2 separate regions of the Homo sapiens genome follow, and region 1 is linked to region 2. The links are contacts of gene promoters, found by promoter capture Hi-C in blood cells and fetal thymus (Javierre and others, 2016). All regions are on one chromosome and are shown on one strand. The core of a region is centred on a gene start or on the middle of the fragment in contact, and the rest is flanking DNA. Distances in the headings are between cores, read along the strand shown. Region 1 overlaps RBM20 (RNA binding motif protein 20). Region 2 holds the start of ADRA2A (adrenoceptor alpha 2A).

Evidence for each region. The method cuts DNA at HindIII sites, captures the fragments that hold promoters and counts their contacts. A CHiCAGO score of 5 or more calls a contact.
Region 1: a contact is called between a fragment that was not itself captured here and the fragment with the promoter of ADRA2A in region 2, in 3 of 17 cell types (neutrophils, total CD8 T cells and non-activated CD4 T cells). The highest score is 5.7, in neutrophils.

The regions. Positions count from the first base shown.
Region 1 is chr10:110,711,164-110,715,204 of GRCh38, reverse strand. The region is part of intron 1 of RBM20 (RNA binding motif protein 20); the gene reads right to left. Among named protein-coding and RNA genes, the nearest start is that of RBM20, 69 kb to the right of the region's middle. The HindIII fragment of the contact is 1,779 bases long and covers 1,435-3,213 here.
Region 2 is chr10:111,074,753-111,078,683 of GRCh38, reverse strand. ADRA2A (adrenoceptor alpha 2A) reads right to left here and starts at 1,655. Exons shown (of 1, transcript NM_000681.4): 1 at 1-1,655. The coding sequence starts at 687. RefSeq lists a silencer at 1,643-1,692. The HindIII fragment of the contact is 6,739 bases long and covers 1-3,931 here.

The DNA of each region.
Region 1 (4,041 bases), core at 1,075-3,574, 360 kb after region 2:
GCGATCTTGACTCACTGCAGCCTCTGCCTCCCTGGTTCAAGCGATTCTCCCAATTCAGCCTCCCAAGTAGCTGGGATTACAGGAGTCTGCCATCATGCCCAGCTAATTTTTGTATTTTTAGTAGAGTTGGGGTTTCACCATGTTGACCAGGATGGTCTCGAACTCCTGACCTCACGTGATCTGCCTGCCTCGACCTCCCAAAGTGCTGGGATTACAGGCTTGAACCAATGCTCCCAGGCAATAAATTACATTTTAAAAACCTTTTGGATTACAGATATTATTTTCATCAACATCATTTGGGAAGGCAATCCTTTTTCCCTGGGCCACCCCTCCAACAAGTGACTTGAAGACCAGGAGACAATTCAAGCCAGCTGGAGCCTCCACCCTGAGCTGCTGGGTCTCCAACCAGGTCAACTACTAGGGAAGGATTCTTCTTGGAAGATGGACCATGTTGCCCCTTCTCAACAATTCTAAGGGGCTGAGGACAACCAGGAAGGACTGCCTCACCTGGTACTCTATCTGCTGCTCCTACTGGTGACTCCTGTTGGGCATGGGCCACCCACAGCTCCCAGAGGCTGTTCCTGCTCTCTTGGGGCAGCAGCTCCTCCTGACAGCTGACAGCAGCTGCTCTCATCAGCAGGTCTCTCAGCAAGTTCTAGAAGCAGAAGTTGCTGCTGTCAAGTAATGGGATCTTCTAGGAGTACCTTGGGTTGGAAGCTCTTGGGTCCTCATTGTCTGGCCCTTCTAGCAGTTCCTAGGAGCCTAGATGGTCAGGTGGTCAGCTCAGTATGACTACAACCACTGCAGAGCACAGCTTCAGACAGGCCAGTGCTAAGCCAGCTTTATTTGTTGCAGCAATGGTACTAGAGACATCTGCCAAACAATACTCCTTTACACAACCTTTTCATTGACCTCCAAGAACTGCAGATATGGTTACATTTCTAGCTACCCAGCATGGGCAAGACCCAGGTTCATGAGGCTCTTGAGTCAGGGAACACTCTTTTCTTTCTTAAGAGGGTCTCCTACCATTCCCTAATCCCAACTATGCCAAGGCTCAAGTGTCTACTCAGGAGGCTTAGCATGTCCCAAAGTCCTCTTCCCATAGCCCATCTTCAGAATCAGGAGCACTGCCATGACTGTAACTCCAGGCACAGATCTGCTTAGCCAGGTCCTCACAGGAGATGGGTAAGCTTCATTCTAATAACATTCCTGGGTGATGATCCTTTGGGCCATGTATCTTCTAGGGATTAATACATCTGAATATTATCAGTCTTCACAATGAAGTATTTCTTACTGTTCCCAACTAGCCCAAAAACGTAGTCCTTAGTAGGCTGGAAAACGCACTGGCACAGGGATAAGGAGCCCGGGATTGTGGTTCCAGACTTGCCACTTACTAGCTGGGAAACCTGAAAAAAATAATCCCCTCTCTAAGCTTCCATTTCTTTATCCATAAATTGAGGTCAGATGTGCTCTACCTACTTTAGGGAATGGTTGCGAGGCTGACATTAAATTGATGAATGTGAGTCTCTTTCAAAACACTGTACAAATGCTGAGTAGAATTTGTCCATTTATTCTTTAATTTGCCAGTAATGCATATATTTAGATAATAAAAAATTCCTCAGCAATGCCCTAAAAACCCAGTTGCAGTACTGAATTATTAAATGACTACTCTGCCCCTGTAGCGTGCAAAGTGTCATAAGGGACACAGGAGATTTAGGGCCTCATCTTTGTTCCCTAGTGATTTATCCTAGTCAGGGTTATAATCGTATTGCACCTAAAATGAGAGTGGAGAGGACTCAGGATATCACTCAAGCCATGTTCCTTACTTAACAGCAAGGAAACTGAGGCCAGGAAAGATTATCTAATAACCAGCAACAGTTATAATACTAGCTAAGCCTAGTGCACGTTACTCTGTGTAGCAGACTTGTTTAGGACCACACAGCAGATCTGTGGCCACGCCAGACCTGGAATCCTAGTGATGGCTCTTTGGCCAGGTTTCTTTCCATATATTTTCCATAAAAATCCACTTCTCTGCATCTGCCCCGTTAGTCAAGCCTGTATGTATGTCAATGACTTATCTTCTGTGATTCTCACACTAAAAGCCCTAAAGAGCAGGGAGAATAGAGCAAGCACTGAGGGAGTGGACAGAACAAAAGAAGCATCACAAGAGGTATTCTGGGGGAAACTGAGGCAGTCAAAGAGGAAGGAAAAGACACTTTACAAATATGGACGCCAAAGTTAGGGGTGACCCAGGATGACGGCAACCATTTTAAGATACTCTACAGAGGGTGTAATAGATGTGTTGGGGAATCACAGAAAAGAGCAAAAACAGTTTATGCCAAACAGATTATATAGTGGAGTCCAGGTGATTAAGTACACACTCATGACATAACTGAAAGGTAATTATTGGGGTCTCTAGATCAGTTTTTTGGGGGCAGGGCACAGAATCTTGTTCTGACACCCAGGCTGGAGTGCAGTGGTGCGATCTCAGCTCACTGCAATCTCTGCTTCCCAGGTTCAAGCGATTCTCCTGCCTCAGCCTCCCGAGTAGCTGGGATTAAAGGCAGGCACTGCCACGCCCTGCTAATTTTTGTATTTTTGGTAGAGATGGGGTTTCACCATTTTGGCCAGGCTGGTCTCAAACTCCTGACCTCAAGTGATCCACCCGCCTTGGCCTCCCAAAATGCTGGGATTACAGGGGTGAGCCACCGCACCCAGCCTCTAGATCAGTTTTTATTGGCCTCAATCAATAAAGATTGAAATATTCTAGCCAACCTCCTCATGTCATGCTCAGACTATGGCAGTAGCTATTAAATTGCAGTAGCTTTTAATTTTAAAAGAATCATCTCTGTTCACAATGATTACTACTGATACCACCACTATTATTGCTACTGCTATACACAACCACACAATCAAACATACACAATATCTTAGGGATGACAAAAATGAGGGCCAGAGCTGGCATATGACTTACCTGAAAACCATACATGAACTCACAATTAACTAACTGTAACTGAGCACCTTGTTTGGTCTGATGCATCATTTCCTACTGAAGAATGACACAAAATAATATAAAACATGATCTTAATTAAAATATATGATAATTCAATTGGAGAAAAAAGAAAATAAAATGCTACTTCCATACTTGGATCTTATCACTTCTTACTATTACTGATTCTAATAAGAAATTACCATTACTAATGTGAATAAGCTTCCTGAATCTGAAACAATGCTAGCACTTTCCCACTGTAGATCAACAACACATTACCTTACAATATTAAATGAGTAACAACAATAAACAGAGGTGAGGGACAGAGAAAAAAAAAGGATACAATCCCTGTGTAGGAATTCAGAATCCTAGTGGGTAGGAAGAGAGCACATTTGCAAAACCCTGAAGTCCTGTTTTCCTAGTACCTAGCATTGTACGCAGATGATACTAAGCATTGTGGGATAAATGCATGAATAAATCAATAATTCTTCTGGATCAGACTGATAGATAAAGGAGGCTGGCTTATGCGGCAGTCTCAGTTCACAGAGTACAAACATAGAATGCCTTCGTTTTTTACATAACTACCCCATCTGGGCAATGTCAACCCCTTCTCTGACTTTCCCCATTAGTGGGGACTTCCTTAAAGTCATCCGTTGACTTTTCAGTCACTTGCAATTATCCAGTCTCATTTAGATTTCTAAGACTCAGCTCAGTTCATTTCAAAACTTCAGTCTCATAGCTGATTCCACATTCTTTTTGTCCCCTCCTCCCAGCCAGGCAAGAGCTATTGCAGTGGTGGTAGCTTGGGGTAAAGGTGGCAGTGGCCTGTCCTTCCCACACCTCCCCTCTCCTGGACTCTTTTTTTTTTTTTTTTTTTTTTTTTTTTGAGATGGAGTCTCACTCTGTCTCCCAGGCTGGAGTGAAGTGGCACAGTCTCAGCTCACTGCAGCCTCCGCCTCCCAGGTTCAAGCAATTCTCCTATCTCAGCCTCCCGAGCAGCTGGGATTACAGGTGCCCACCACCACGCCCAGCTAATTTTTGTATTTTTAGTA
Region 2 (3,931 bases), core at 406-2,905:
CAGGATCATGATGAGGCAGGGAGCGAAGAAGGAGCCGATGCACGACGAGATGACGTACCACTTCTGGTCGTTGATCTCGCAGCGCGGCTCGGCCGGCTGCGGGCCGCCGCCGCCGCCCTTCTTCTCGATGGAGATGAGCGGCGGGAAGGAGATGACGGCCGAGATGACCCACACGGTGATGATGATGGCCTTGATGCGGCGCGGCGTGCGCTTCAGGTTGTACTCGATGGCCTGTGTGATGGACCAGTAGCGGTCCAGGCTGATGGCGCACAGGTGCACGATGGACGACGTGCAGAAGAGCACGTCGAGCGCCAGGTAGATCTCGCACCAAGCCTTGCCGAAGTACCAGTAGCCCATGACCTCGTTGGCCAGCGAGAAAGGGATGACGAGCGTGGCCACCAGGATGTCGGCCGAGGCCAGAGACACCAGGAAGAGGTTTTGGGGCGCCTTGAGCGCGCGGCTCGTGAACACGGCGATGATGACGAGCACGTTGCCGAACACGGTGAGCAGCATGAGCAGGCCGGCCAGGCACACCAGCGTCAGCGTCACCTGCAGGGAGTAAGGGGTGGCCCGGGCGCCGCCCCCCGGCGCCTCGGTCCCGTTCCAGCTCGCGTTGCCCGCGTCCGGCTGCAGGGAGCCCATGGGCGCAAAGCTGCCCTCGGCCAACGGCTGCTCCTGGCGGAACATGAACGCGGGCGCCCGCTGGCCTGGGCCTGCTGCCAGCTGCCTTCCGGCCCGGCGCCCGTGGGTCCTCCTCTTCCTCCGGCGCCCCGCTCGCCTGGCTGCGGCTCACATAGGGAGGGGGCCGCAGGGAGGCCGGGCCCGAACTGGAGGACCGCTAGCGGCCCATGGCCCGGGTCCCGCGAACTGCGCCTGGCTCGCGCTTCAGACGCTCTCGGTGGGCGCCTTCTTGCTCCGAGCTCCTAATACAGCCAAGTTTTATTTCTAAGCGGCGGGAGAGAGTAGGGAGAGCCGATGGGTAAAGAGAGATTTATTCTTCAAGAAGGGAGAACAAAAATCATCGGTGGCCTGATAACTTGGAAGGATGACAGGAAATTAAATATATATATACATATCAATATCTGTATCTTGAATCTTGAGCCTGAGCGAAAGCAAGAGGTCTTACCGTGTGCGGGGCCCGCCCCCACCCCGGGAGGCAGCCGAAGGGTGCTGATGCGAGCTCGGGGGTCCTATGTCTGTCGCCTTACATCCCCGAAGCGATTACCGACTCTCTGGCTTCCCCCAGACGCTGCGGTTCTGGCCCGGCCCGGCCCGGGGCTGGGGCGCGGACTCTGCCGCCTCTCGGAGCGCCGCGAGACTTCCAAAGTTGTGCGCCCTGCTGGGGCTGGGGCACACTGTGCGGAGCTCCGGGACGGCGGCGGCGGCGGGGTGAGGAGTGTGGGGGCCGCATGAAGGCACCCCCGTCCTCAGGCGGGCCGGGGCAGGTGAACGATCAGCTCTCCAGGAGCCGCGACGGAGGCAGGGGTTCTCCTGGGCGTCCGCCTGGTGGGCGCCGAGCGCTGCTGGATGGGCCGGGGTCCGACGACAGCGCGAGTTGGGGCAGGAGCGCAAGGCGGGGAAGAAGGCGCTGGAGTGGCCGGGCGGCGGCACGCCGGCTGCTGGGCTTCTGCACCGAGCTGGAGCTGCTGCTGCTCCGCTGCGCTCACGGTGGACTCGTTTTATAGCCCCAGGATCAAGCAAGCGTTGCTGAGCAGCCGGCGTCAGCCCCCACGTGGGAAGCCGACCCTCCCCCGCCCCTCGCACCACCCCTCCGCCAGTCTAGCGCCCGCGCCTAGCGCTGGACCTCGGGGAGCGTTGCCCTCAGGCGGGACGAGCCCTTTGGAGAGGCGGGTACCTTGAGCTAGAGACTTAAAGAGGGAGCCCGGGGGTGGGGGGTAGGGGAGGAGCGGCCCCTGCTGGGAGTTGGCCATGCAGCTCCGGGCCGACGGAGCAGAACGCAACGGGCACCCGTGAGTGCCCCCAAGAAGCTGGATCTTGGGAGAAAAGGGAAGAAAAAAATGGAAGGGAATCCCCGCCCAAATCGAGGGAAGTAACCTCCGGTGTGAGTTACGTCTGGAGCAGCCCAGCTCCGGGCCAGAGCCGACGCGGTCCGCAGGTGCTCCTGGAGGCTGGGGAGAAAGGGGTCCTGGAGAGGGAGGAAGGCGCGGCTTCGGATGGAACCCCTGGGGCGGAATGGACAGCACCCACGGGGAAGTGGTACAAGCCGGAGTTCAGACCTCCGCTTAGGGAAGAAGCGGCTACGTGTCCTCCCAGCCGCGATGCTGTCTGCGGGAAACGCAAGACCCGGGGTCTGGACCGCGCCCCCTTAGACCGAGGTGGGGAGGGGTCCAGGAGCCGAGCGCCAGGGCAAAGCGAGGACGCACTGACACCTGCTGGCCGCTCGTGGTCACGGCTGAGAAGCGACCCGCTGACGCCAGGCGCCTCCTCCCGTCTCTTAGGTCTTCTGCCAACAGAGCCTTCTCCTATCTCCGAACAAATTGGTTTCTAAGCTCAGGAAAGGAGAACCCAGAGTTTGAATTGCACCCTGCCGTGTTGCAGAAATCTTCCTAAAGCAGATACTCGTGTGTCTACCCCTGGCGGGAGTGGGGGTTTGTCTAATAAAGTCACATCAGGAAGGGCTCAGCAGGCACCGCCGGCCAGAACGGGCATCCCACTCTGGACCCGCACAGCCCACCCTTCCTGCAGATCCGAGAGAGGCCAGGATCCTGCCTCCTTGGTTGCACAGCTCTGGCTTGCTGGGAATCATTATGTTTTTGTTGAGGACCGAAAGCTAGACTCCACTCCCGCCCCGCATCCCACCCCCATTCAGATGTACACACAGCATCCTTCAATAAGGGGAAGAGGGAGTAGAATATTTTCCATGTTCTCTCTGATAAGAATAGCGGTGGGGGCGGGGGGGAGTGGGTGTGCGGCGAATGGCAAGTTTTTCCGTGCGTGCTAGCTGTCCTAGGATAGATTTTAACGGTCACTAGAGCACTAGCTTGCACCCTGCTAGCTGCACTTTTCAGATGAGAGCAAGCAGTTTAATGGTAAAACCCAAGAGGGTAGGAAATTTCAGCAGGAGAGAGATTAGACTTAAAGGAATGTCGTCTTATTTAAGGAACCACTAAACCAAAATGCCTTGTGCAGTCACCTAAGTTGGAATTCCAAGGATGGAACAGGCTGCCTCTCTGTGCAGCCAGCTGCAGGCTTAGGTCTGGCTGGGGGCTGATGGCTAAATTAAGGGCCCTGAGAATCACCTTCATTCCCAGCTGATGTCTATAGCCCGCACCAGTGATACAGTTATTGGTGCTGCTGCTGTTCATGTAGTCTCAAAATCTGTACTTTCCAAAGTATTTCACAGAAGTCTCATTTGACTTCAGTACCTTTGTCTCCCAATCTTTGCCCTAATGGTATAAACTCCCTTTCCAGTGTTAGTTCTGAGGAGCCTTTCTAATCTCCCTTTCTGGACAATCTAAAGGAAGCTGAGAAGACAATTTCCTCGCTCTGTTGAGTCACTCATTTTCCATCTTCTACTAAAGTCTCTGCTCTGAGGCTCTTGGCAGGGGCTTTGGACATCGCCAGTAGGCTCAGTTGGAAACATGGCTACAGTCATTTTTGCACAGCAACTAGGAACCCCACACTTCAAGTATGAATACTAAGAGACAAAAATCAGAGCCCGTGGCAATCTGGGGTTTGCTGTGTTGCTGTTTGTAGAACTCGGGAACTGAGTCTTAGGAGACCATCACTTACCATCTGCACCCCAGCTTCCAACACACTGCTCTTCTTCCTAATTTCAGAATCAAAAGAGGAAATAAAAACAAAGTTTACAGTAATTATCTTTCTTGAAATTTCTGCTGCTAGCCTGTGTATGACACCTCTTGTCATATTTTCTAAATGCTTCCCAAACAGCCAGGTGGTTTCTTAATTC